Linked DNA regions of Homo sapiens: region 1 is linked to region 2. Evidence: promoter capture Hi-C in 16 types of primary human blood cells and fetal thymus (Javierre and others, 2016). All regions are on one chromosome and are shown on one strand. Each heading gives the region's core, a stretch centred on a gene start or on the middle of the fragment in contact. The rest is flanking DNA. Distances are from core to core; before and after follow the strand shown.

Evidence for each region. Contacts are between HindIII fragments. The CHiCAGO score rates a contact against its expected background, and 5 or more counts as called.
Region 1: a fragment that was not itself captured here is called in contact with the fragment with the promoter of RALYL in region 2 in 1 of 17 cell types (endothelial precursors); the score reaches 6.0 in endothelial precursors.

The regions. Positions count from the first base shown.
Region 1 is chr8:82,313,920-82,320,508 of GRCh38, reverse strand. No RefSeq gene overlaps it. Among named protein-coding and RNA genes, the nearest start is that of LINC02839, 160 kb to the right of the region's middle. The HindIII fragment of the contact is 1,212 bases long and covers 1,959-3,170 here.
Region 2 is chr8:84,180,889-84,187,222 of GRCh38, reverse strand. RALYL (RALY RNA binding protein like) reads right to left here and starts at 3,949. Exons shown (of 9, transcript NM_173848.7): 1 at 2,799-3,949. The HindIII fragment of the contact is 11,643 bases long and covers 1,596-6,334 here.

The DNA.
Region 1 (6,589 bases), core at 1,315-3,814, 1.9 Mb after region 2:
TTATTACTCCTGTCATAATATGATGATCTCTGTAGTCTGTTTCTTAGAAGAGCCAGACCCTAAATTACAGCTAAGTTGCATTACAAAGTTTAACTCTGAGTCCTTTGTCTGGAATCTGGAACATCTTTTCTGATTGAAAGATGTTTAAATGTCAGTTCGTTTCCTGGAGTAGGCTTAAAAATATTCTAGGTAAAATTAATTCAGCAAATTAGGTTCAGGATAATTTTTGTTTAGTGAACTCGACTGAAAACAGGATCAACAGTTATAACACAAGATTCAGTTTGGAATACTGGGAACTTATCTTCCTACCAGGGAAGGCATTGATGATAGCCCTGTGGAGATTTCATAATTGTAGATTTCATCCACTGGATAAACATAAAGCATGACCACAACCCATATAATTGCTAAATGAATAAATTAGTAAATGAGTGAGCAGATATCATTTCCCTTATGTGCCATGGCAGAGAAAAAAAGTTAATAATTGTCTCTTCCAGTATCAAGCAGCAAGAACCATAGGGAATGCTGGATCATAAACTCTTATTAACTATTTCCCTTTTGCCAAAATAAATTTTAAAAAATTCTAACCTTTTTTGACATCATGCAGATAAACTCATCCAGAAATCAGGCAATTACAGAGTGGATGCTAGCATGATATAAATTGCCTATATTTAAATGGCTTGCTCAAATGAGGACTAGCATTAAAGATTCTACCAGGAGAGTTGACCCTGTCTGTCCTTCCAAAAGCCTCAGATCTCTTCCTGTTCCCTTTTTAGAAGACTTGAATAAAAACATGCAGAACACTCAAAAATATACACTCAGCTGGAAAAAGAAGATAGGGAAAACAAGAGAAAGCTTCCTTGCTTGCTACAAGAGGAGGGAAATGACTGCCTTTTACATATAAAACTCTGAAACTAATTGCATTAAAGGCATATTCAGTAATATTTAATATATTTCCAGGACACTTATGAGTAATTTTAATATATACCTTTTAACCTATACCTGATGTTCCATTATACTTGCAATATAGCTATTCTTCCAATATAGTTATTGGAATATATAACTATAACAATAGTTATTCTACTTGCTTACTATACCCTTTAAATTATAATGATTAGTCATGTATATTGCATAATTAAATTACAAAAATGATTAATAATCATTATATTATTGTTTAATCTTACTACATACCACATATTTCATTTTAACTAGAAAACGCAAAGTGCTTTTTAACTCATGGGCCAAACATATTGTTATATGGATAATTAGCCTGGGTTTTATTACAGGTAAGGAAACTAAGGTCCAAGTTAAGCCACTTATCCAAGGTGAAACAAGAATATTCCTTGTTCTTGGTCTGAGTCAATAATAGCTTAGAGCTTAGAATACAGGACTTTCAGTCATTTTTTTTTACAAAACTGAACCAAAGAAAAACCACAAGTTTTCTCTGTAATTAATAATATAAATACTCTTAAAGAAGATTTTTTTTTTAGAATCGTGGTTCTTACAGAAGATTCAGAGAATGGTGTCTAATAGAATATTTCAGGCAACAACCTATTGACATAAGCCTGGTTAGGCTCAGCTATCACAGCCCCAGCCTCTGACCCCATACAGTTTCAAAGCATCCTGGAATAACTCCTGGGTATCTCATTTCATAAATGGTCTCCAGACAGATATTGTCTTCAGATGGCAGTAACAGAGACCTGTGATCCACGACAGAAATTCTCCATCTTTTCTTTTCTATTATAACACCCATGAATAATACAAAAGAGAGCAAAAAAAAAAAAAAAGAAGAAGAAGAACTGATGGGCATTACTTTAAATCACAAGGCAGCTTTTAAAATTATTATTACATTTTTGCTCCCCAAGGAAGTAGTTAAAATTCCCTCCTGAATAGATTGCATCTGGTTTAGTTAAGTTCATTGAAGGGGTCTTTTAATTATTGTAAAAATTAAGTCTCAAGCTTTAAGCCAGGAAAACTGGGAAAGGATACAAATGAATGAACAAACAAAATTTGGTCTATGTTTCAATCTCTTGTAAGAGATAATATTCATAACCTGAGAGTTAGTCTTATTGCTTAAGATTAGATCATCTTACTGTTCGCCCTAGTTGAATTTCGGAGAAAACAAGGCAATTGATATGGGATATTTGGCTGAAGGAGTTTGTAATGACCCCTCTGGTTTCTGTTAATTGTAGGTAGAGCACCTAGATTAATTACCCTACCAAACCTCTACAAAATGAGTGGAAACCATTCCTAAAGGTAGACTGGAAAGCTGTTACAAAGGCGAAATATGTGCTAAGCAGCAAAAAATAAAAATAAATATCCAACAGAGTCTAATTAACATACTGGAATTTTTTTTCAAATGCTTTGAAATCTGAAAAAGGTTAATATTATTTCAAAAAATACATTTATATGTTTGCATTTACGTGTATGTGTGCATAAGCATATCATAATTTACAAATTGATAAAATACAATTCAGTTACTCCTTGGGGCACCTCTTTTTCTGAATATAGAGACATAAGGAAATTCAGCTAATATATTTTTATTTGAAGAGAAACTGTAACAACTAATGATCACATATAGGGTATACTATCTTGCTAATAACTATTTTTCTCATAAGAGCTTCAAATACATTCTCTAAACAATATTTTTAAATAACGTACATGTTTTTATTACACACAGTCTTCTTACTTGCTCTGAAAATTTGTCCTCTTTAGAGTTCTTGACTGTGTACAACATACCCAAGAAATAATCCTTCTGTTTGATGCTTCTGGATCCAGCATCTCACTGCAGATACCATGGTTACAAGGCCAAGTGTTAGGCATGAAATTGCAGGCTTTAAAATGCGGTAAGATTGCTATATTGGCTTCTTAGGACACTCAGCTGCATCTGCACCAGACCACATATTTGTTTATGAAGAAATGGTTGTGTGTAAGATAAGGTGATGGAGATCATTAATTATAGGTGGAAGCCAAGAGATAAAGAAAAAGATGATTATTTATATAACCAGTTCCTTACCAGAATGCTGCGTAGTTCAAAAGCTAATAAAACTCCTTTAATAACTCTGAACCCAAGAGGTGGTAATCTACATTTTATTAGGTGGAAGAGATTTAAAATTGTTTGTTGCAGAAGATTAAAAAGAAGGGAAATAAAGAGAGGGAAAGAGACTAAAGCTTGAATCAGAAATGAGATTCATGATTTTCCTTTTGATCTACACAATATCAACTGTCTGTACTGCATTATAACTTCATATGATTTCCCATCAGGTTGTCTGAAAATTGACTCTTTAAATGTGATGATGCTGAAAAATGGTGTCTAAGAAAAGAAAGCTTTCCTTTAAAAAAAATTAGTTTCCTGTAGCATTTTACTAATGAGATACACAATAAGATTATATCACTCATGCATTATTTAACATCATACCCCCTGAATTTCCATCTCCTGATTTTAGATGACTCACATGCCGGAAAACAGAACAGCCTCAGGCATTTTAAGTTTTGAATATAAATCACCTATATAGTTTTAAAATGCTATTTTAAATAAAATATCCAATTCTCTGGCCTTGATTATGTGTGAGCAATAATATATATTTTTGCATAATTCTAACTTCATTTATATTTTGTAATATATCATTTTTCTCATTGAACTAATTTTTATTGAGTGTCCACTGGTACAAGATGTCATGTAGAAATATATGGCATTGTTTAATTTAATTAAGAAATCATTACTCAACATATTCTACTCCTCCCACACAGGCACTTGATAGAAACACTTCGTTAACTTGCTAATATAAATTAAAATATTTACAGGAGATATTTATTCCACATTCAGAATGACCCAGGACTTTAATATTTGAGTTACAGAGGGAAATATACATTTCTATGTCCAAACCATGTAATTAAATAAGCAGATTGATACAGTGCTGTGCTGAAGCCAGCTTGTACTGGCTCAGGGGAACTGTTGTTAGCCTCTCTTTTCAAATCGATGTTTAGTGATGCCAAATTGATAGTGATGGGAGTATTTACACACAGAAATTGGTAACTGTCACAAACAAATGGGTTTTGTTTTGTTTTTGTTTTGTTTCAGAGTCAGCTGGTAAACATTTACCAGCCCATCACTGCTTTTAATCAATGTTGTTTACAGAATTATTCACACAAATGAAATGCAGTCTTGAATGAGCAGTCTTTGAAAAAAGGTTATAATGTAGTAATACATGAATTAAAATAATATTCATAAATTATATGTCAACTGGCATTTATTTAAAGTGATCTAACCCTTCTAAAAATTAGCTAGCAGTGTAAACAAGGAGTAAACAAAGCAAAATTAATAAATTTGTGAATATTTAGTTAGGCGATTGTTATATAGGTTCATTTTGCATGTTTATGTTTGCAAACTTTTCATAAGAAGACATTTAAAAGTAAAAAAGCAAAATACTTATACATATATCAAATATATATAGTTTGTGTATATATGTAGTTTTAAATTATATATATGTATTCACACATAAGTAACACATTCTTAAAAATAAAGACCATCTCATTGTGGTTTTGATTTGCATTTCTGTAATGATCAGTGATGATGAGCTTTTTTTCATGTTTGTTGGCTGCATGTCTCCTTTTGAGAAGTGTCTGTTCATACCCTTCACTCAATTTTGATGGGGTAGTTTTTTTTTTCTTGTGAATTTCATTATGTTCTTTGTAGATTCTGGATATTAGCCCTTTGTCAGATGGATAGATTGCAAAAATTTTCTCCCATTCTGTAGGTTGCCTGTTCACTCTGATGATAGTTTCTTTTGCCAGTTAGAATGGTGATCATTAAAAAGTCAGGAAACAACAGATGCTGGAGAGGATGTGGTGAAAAAGGAACACTTTTACACAGTTGGTGGGAGTGTAAATTAGTTCAACCATTGTGGACGACAGTGTGGCAATTCTTCAAGGATCTAGACCCAGAAATACCATTTGACCCAGCAATTACCTTACTGGGTATATACCCAAAAGATTAAAAATCATTCTTCTATAAAGATACATGCACACATATGTTTATTGTGGCACTGTTCACAACAGCAAAGACTTGGAACCAACCCAAATGCCCATCAATGATAGACTGGATAAAGAAAATGTGTCACATACACGTCATGAAATACTATGCAGCCACAAAAAAAATGAGTTCATGTCCTTTGCAGGGACATGGATGAAGCTGGAAACCATCATTCTCAGCAAACTAACACAAGAACAGAAAAACAAACACCACATGTTCTCATGCATAAGTGGGAGTTGAACAATGAGAACACATGAACACCAGGAGGGGACTATCACACACTGGCGCCTGTCTGGGGGTTGGGGGCTAGGGGAGGGATAGCATTAGGAGAAATACCTAATGTAGATGATGGGTTGATGGGTGCAGCAAACCACCATGGCACATGTATACCTATGTAACAAACCTGCACATTCTGCACATGTACCCCAGAACTTTAAGTATAATTTAAAAAGAAAAAATAATAAAAAAACAAAGACCATATATATTTACAAAGCATTTGCTGTACAGTTATTCAATTATTATCTTAGTATGTTTCTTTAATAGGAAGTTATGGTTTGTAGTTTCATTATGAAAAGAAAACATATCATAAATTCCAAATATTTCCTTAACTGTGATTCAAATTTTATCTGGGGCATCAAAAGGCATGGGACCAACTTATCTTTTTAAGTACATTTAAACAAACAAAATCACCAAATGATATATATAGTTTGATATACCTTTAGTAGAGGTATTGAGGGGTTACACAATTCAAAACATTTTAAGATTGAAGAAGTTCTCTGTACACCATTGAGTCCAACCACTTTATTTTGTGGGAAAAAAAAAAAAAACTCAAAAAGACAATAAACTTCAAAGTTAGAGTTAACCAAGTTCTTGCTACTCAAAAGTGTGAGCCAATGTCAATATCACCTAGGAACTTCTAGGAAATTCTGACTCTCAGCCCTTGCCCCAGAAGTAGTGAAATGGAATCTGTAGTTTAACAAGATCCCCAGGTGATTTACACACTTATAAAAAAGTGAAAAGCACTGAAACAGGCAGCACCAAATTTGGTGCCATTGTGTCTGATTCCCCTACCTCATTACCCCACACTCTCTGGCAAGAAGATGGACTTTGTTTTGCTAATCCTAACAACTATTTGGACTTTTACTGGTCCAGGTTCTGTTTGTGCATGCACATGCACATACTGCTGAGACACTGAGAAACTTCTGTCAGGTTTTACCTCTTTCCTTCAATCCTGAATTGGTCACTTCATAAAAGGACAGTGTTGATGTTCTGCAATTCTGAAAAGTTGTAAGATGCAAAAAGATCAATAATAAGTACAGCCATGATCTTGTGATGTTGATGATGGTTATGATGGTAAGAAAATCTTCATATTCTGCCTTACAGACAGGGAGTCTCATAAATTCATGACGATTATAGTAAATATAACTTTTCATTGTGTGGTTTTATTAAATGTTCAGAATATGGTCTCCTCCTCTACTTTATTTATCAGTAAGGTTGAGATCGGTTTAGCGATTGTTCTTACTTTGGATGTGATGACCTGATTTCTCATGGAAAATTGCT
Region 2 (6,334 bases), core at 2,700-5,199:
TTCTTGAAAATTTAACAGGTTTTCATTTTGTGATTATTTCTTTGTCACAGTTTAGATAGTACAATGTTTGAGGTCAGATAGTGATCCAATGCCAATTTAATTTGTGGGTCTTATTTCCCTCAGTCCCCACCTTTACCTTGGAAACCCTCTCTCATTACAAAATAGAAACTTTTTTTTCCCTCCTTCTCGCTTAGTAAGCAGTTGAAAAGATCTGCACAATTAAATTGATCTAAATCCCTGTGGGTCGCTTGGCGAATGAAAAAATACATTTTTTCCATGAGAAGCCAGTAGGCGGTGCTAAATCTAGGATACTACCTTCAACAATTTTAAATCAAAAACTAAACAGGTGGCCAGTTTAAGAGTTGTAGAATTCCCAGAATGATTCACACAGGAAGAAATCTGAAAAATTTGAATGTAATAGATAGAAATGTAATACAAGTCTACAATATAATTAAAAATGAATCTTAAATAAATGAAAACATAGATAACTAAAGGTTCTTAGAATGATCTTAAGTTACAGAAATTAAAGCACAACTACCTCTCTGTCCTCACATTAAAATCGTCTTTGGTCCCATTAATTGTTTCAATCTCATTGGGAAATATCACACAGTACAGCTAGTGCTTTGCCCAATCTTAAACCACATACTACCTCAACCTTAGGGCAGCAACTGATTCTCTTAATGAAAATGCAGGTTCGATCATTCAAGTTCTTGCTTGCTTGCTCTGTCTCTCTCTCTCTTAAAAGAACTAAACGACTTACAATACATAAAACATACAAAAATATATTATACACATAAATTGTCTTGCATTTTAATAAATGAGCATTTCTATGTACATACATTGTTATAATTGAAATGATTTTTAAAATCACAGAATGTTGCAAGTGGCTTTTTTAATGTTTTATGTTAGCTGTTTGAGGCATATGAAAGACTGTATTTTAGTAATTAGCTCACTATACAAAATAAGAAAATCCTAATTTCAGGCTTAGTGCCATCATATTGGCTTCAAATCTTAGAACTATACACCTCAAGATATCAAATATGGTGTCCACAGACAGTGACATAAACTATCTTCTTTATATAAATGCAACAGGATTTCCTTCACAGAGAAAAGCTACTCGGAGAACAAAATAACTCACATACATTGTATTTCCCCGCCAGGAAATACAATGAAATGTCCAAAGACTTTTGAGATACTTGCATGAGTTGTGAATAAAAAATATATACAACTTTCCAGATATTACACTAACTTTTAATCTTCTACAGTTAAATGGCCCATTGCACGCCTTACTTTTTGACCACAAAGAGTAAAAACTAAGGCGTAAAACCTTTCATTCCACAAACTGAGGTTACAGACAGTGAAATATTTGCTTGAAAAAGCCAGTGTATGTTATAAACCCCTTTGTCATGGGCCCCTCTGTATGTTGCAGTCAGTTTTTATTTCTGTAGTTACCTAGAAGAAAACTTCATCTGAGAGGTAAAAAGTTGTTGTTTCATTTGCTTTATGTTTATTTTACAGAATTCAAAGTATATACACATGGTAATTTAAAGCTAAGCTTTTCATTTAAGGGGGGAAAAGGTAAGAAAATCAAAGCTTCAAAATCAAAGTATTTAAATAATGGTGACTCTCCAGATTTTAAGATGTATGCCTTCAGGAAATTTATTTGGACAGAAAAATTTCCAGCAGATTCGGTCACAGTGTTAAATACAGAAAAGGCTTTTTATTGCCAACTGGTACGTCTCTGAAAAGTAATGCTAAATTATACTGAAAACATGTAACAGGATAATCATAAAATATCATAGAATACATTCAACATTGAATACGTCAGTGCTACCAACACACGAAATCATCACCTCTATCACCAACCCCTCACTCCTGCCCTGTACACAGTTCTCAGGGGAAAACCTTTAGAGCCAGTATCAGGTGGTTAAAAAGAGGGAAAACTCTGCCCCTTTAACAAAATTTAAATAAAAGGCATTTTTTTAATACCTTAGAGGTGTAGGGTCATTACTGCAAACTAACAGCGTCGTCCTCAACATTAAACCCAAGTGATCATCTTATAAGAAACTATTTCCCCATCCCCTGGAAGACGACACCAGCAGGCACTTAAAACCAACGCAACACAACAGGGAAAAAAAAGATCCAAAGACAGCATCCCTAAGAAAGCAAAGCCCTTTGGTAAAGCAAAATAGGCTGGGTAGGACCTACTGCGTCGTTTACTCATTGCGAAGAGGAGGAGCAGGAGTTGAGCGTGCGAGGGCCGGTGCCATCCTCAAGGCTCTGGAAATGTCTCCAGCTCCGGCTCGCGTGGCCTGGAGCCAGCCCCTCCGGAATATGCGGTCTCTGCCGCTTCTACCCCCATCTCCCGGGTGCTCTGAGGGTCCCCTCTAGCCCGCCCGACGGCCAGCGCCACGTACACGGCCCTCGCCCCTCCTGCTGTGCAAGTGGCCCTCGGAGAACTTACAGGGCCCGCCGGCCGCCTAGTGCCCGGCCGGCGCGGCCCGCAGCGCAGACGCCACCCGCCCCGCCGGGAGACGACCTGGGCGCAGCTCACCGTGGGAGGGGTGGGGGGAGGGGACTGTATTTTGCGCACATCTAGAAAACGATCCTGAAGCAGGGAACGGACTTTGGTTTTCCCTGGCTCCCTGCGCCGCTCTCCCCACCTCGGGCTCGGACACTGCCCGGAGATGCGCGCGCGCAAACACAGACACACACACACACTCACACTCACACATTTCTTTGCTAGGACCAGTGTTGCCACTGCACACCCGGGAAACGCCTCCAAGGGGACCAAGTACCTGCTCTCTGCGAGCTGCTCAGCTGTTCACTTCATCCTCCGTTGACAAGGAAACCAAACCGCACTTCATTTTTTTTTTTCCAGAAAAACCTTCCACTGCCATCATTTGAAAATTGATTTACGGGGAGGGAAGGGGGAGAAATAAGGGACAATATAGATATAGATATCAGGATATCTATCATAAAATTATCTCGGTTTTTTAAAAAAGTCAAATGTGCAAAAGTCATAGTTAATTTAAAGGAGGAAAAAAGTATTTTGCTTAAAAATGATCCCAATCACCAGCTGTAAGAAAAGTTTCATGTTATCAATGGGTATCAAAAACAGGAGGGAAAAAAAACGAATTTGTTTTCACCGGCTTCCAAAAAGGGCACAAAAAATATAAAATTAATGTCTTTGCTCAGTGGTTTGCACCAGTATTGCAAGACCACAAACTTGTAAACACTGCCGTAAAATCCCACCTATACAAAAATGTTATCAGAAAAAGAGTATGCAAAAAAAGAGTTAGAAACATGCTTTTTATTTTTACAAAGGAAAAAAATAGGCACCATACTTCACATCGCTTTTTCCATAAAACCAGTTGCACATTTTGCTGGACTTGGGAGACGCTCCCAGCGGGCACGGTCGCCGCGGACTCCGAGACACAGCGCCTTGTCTACAGAACGATCGCATGCTAGAAAAACTTGGATTCAGGAAAAGGCTCAAAACCATGCTCCTCCAGCTTTCCCAAATATAAACAATAATCAAAGAAGTGGAAAAAAAGAAAAAAAACAAAAACAAAAAAAACAAAAAACCAAAAAAAAGGACAAAAAAAAGAATAGGACAAGAATGCCACTGAGAAGGTACTCACCGAGCGGGAGTAAAATGTTGGAATAAAAATGAGATTTAGTATAAAATACAGTATGGCGGTGGAAGAAGGAATGAAGCGCGTTTTTTTCTCGCAGTCTCTGCCTCAGGCACTGACACGTGACTCGGAGCCAGGCTGACTTGCAGGCAGCGGGGAAGGACCGAGGCTGCGAGGGGGGAAGCCCACGGAGCCCAACTCTGGCTGGCGAGGCGGCGGCGGCGGCGACGGGGAGCCTGGCGCCTGAGAGCGGCAACACCAGTGGCGGCAGCAGCGGCAGCGGCAGCTCGCGGCGAGGCTGCCTTCGCTGTGAGCCCAGACGAGCAGGTGCCCCTCACGCTGAGGCTGAGCACACGCACACGCACACGCAAGACAGGCAGGGCGCCGGCGAGAGGGGGAGCCGAGCGGGGTTGGGCCCGAGGCGCGCAGCTGCCGCCGCCTCTGCCGCTGCTGCCGCGATTGCTGCTGCTGCCTCTGTTGCTGCCGCCGCCGCCTCGCATTGGGAGTGTGTGCTGTGGGGGCAGCTCAGGGGTGCTGATCCAGCGCCTTGAGAGGAGGTGCACAACTTGCTGCTCACCTCAAAGTTGTTGCTTGCCACTTCCTTGTGTATTTCATCTATTTTTCATCTACAGGTAGTTACCTGGGGAGAGATCCCATCGTCTTCTCTCTGGAAGTTTTACTATTCAAGCCCACATTCACTCATTCATTTTGTTTGTTTGTTTGTTTGTTTCCCTGATTTTCCATTTCCCATCCCTCCCAAGCTGCCTTTGCCTCTGCTGTTCCCTCCTCCCTAGATCTGCGTTTCCCCCTCCCGGTTCTCAGGGAACCTGGCTCAGCGCGATGCTGGGGGCGTTGTCACGGGCAAAGCCACTGTCAATCTTTATTGCCATCTGAACGCACAGCCTCTCTTTCGCCGTCTTCAAGGGGAATGCTTGCAGTTTGAAAGACACAACAAAATCTCTTATTTAGGAAACCCCGTCCCGGGTTTCTTTCTGCGGGTTGCGGAGCGGTGGGTGGGGGCATGGGTGTCCTTTATTCATTCGTGGACAAGGCATTGTTTTGTCTGTGTGTGCGCCCGTGCTTCTGAGCTGGTCTGGAAAGCTCCAAGGGTCTATGCTCCATGGCAGAGACTCCTGTTTGACTCTTGCTCAAGTTGTTCGCTGAGGCTGGAAGTCAAAGGAGAGGGGCATGGGAAACAAGTGAGTCCATTGTGTGAGTGCTCGCCTGGAGGGAGCAAGCACTTGGCGGTCGAGAGGGGGAGACGTGTACCAGCAGTGAGGCGGTGGCGCACCCCGCGGGAGCCAGGTGGCTGAGCAGTGGATTCTGAAGGTGAGGGTGGCAGAGGGATTTCTCCACCCAGCGTGTGGGTTAGGGCGCTCATCGATCGCCTGAACAAAGATGCCATCAGCCAATCGCTGGGTGCATTGGGCTTCTATTACTGCCTGTTGAAGAATCAGCTTTGTGGACGCTAGAACACATCTATTTTTCTTCATTTTTGTACAATACTCACCTCAGGACCATTTCCCTGTGCTGCTTTGAATCTAGGTTGTGTGGAATTAATTGGCGTCTCTATATTTGAGAATGAGCAATTAACACAATTCTGCAGTTCAAAGATTCCTGCTCCCGATCTTTATCTCAATGTTTCCAATGCTGACGTTTCATATAAAATGCCTCCATCAGAGATGATCTAACCTCGACATTCTGAAAATTAAGTACACATCCTTCACACAGAGCTTCAGTAGCAAATATGGTCCTCAAACATTGTGCTCAGAATTCATTGGCCAAATAAAGTTTTAATCCGCAATTTAAATAAGAGATTTAAAATAGCCATTAAAATATCACTAAATATTTATTTTGGTGAGTTGCCAACTGTACACCCACTTATTATACATACTTTCCAGGGAGGACTGTTGATTAGGAATACTGACAGAGAGAGATGAATACATCAAAGTGGATTTGATAACTTTGGAAGCCTTGAGTTCTACTCGGAAATCACAGAATTTTAAGCTGGCTAATACAGATCAAATATTGTGCTCTCGCTGTAAAACATGTTGGACTTATTTTATTTTATTTTATTAAGTAAGATCTCTTTACACGTGATCTTTTTCTTCCACAAGTCCTGAATTAATTTTATCTAGGATTTAAAACTTAGTTTGTTAAATTTTCCACATTTTCTCTTCCATTTGAAAATATATCTGATTCTAAACATTTAAGAAGAAAATATTTTAATGCATATCTTTTTCCATCATTCATATCACAGTGGTATTCAAATGTGAAAAACTTCACTTTAAAAATGAGTTTTGAACCTTTCAACCAGGCTGGGAAGAGTTATTCAAGAAGAACTTTGAAAAACAAGCTATTTAGAATTACACTGCACTAATGGCTGTCAGCCAATCACAGTGATTGTCAGTCTTTTATTATTCAATAAAATGACTCCCCTTTATGTTAATGCAGCTCTGCTGAAGAAAAGCAAGACATCAATATCCTCCCTGCACTTTTCCCGTTTACTTATATAATTACATTAGAGTACTCAAAATATTCCACTATCGTTTATTTCCAGTGTGCCATTTTCATCTTTTTGGGTTGTATCACTGCATTATAAACAAGAGTAAACAAAGTCAGGTTGAGGCAACTGGTATTTAGAAAGTATAGCCACTCATTTAATTTTTGTAACAGCTCCATGACATTGACTTTAT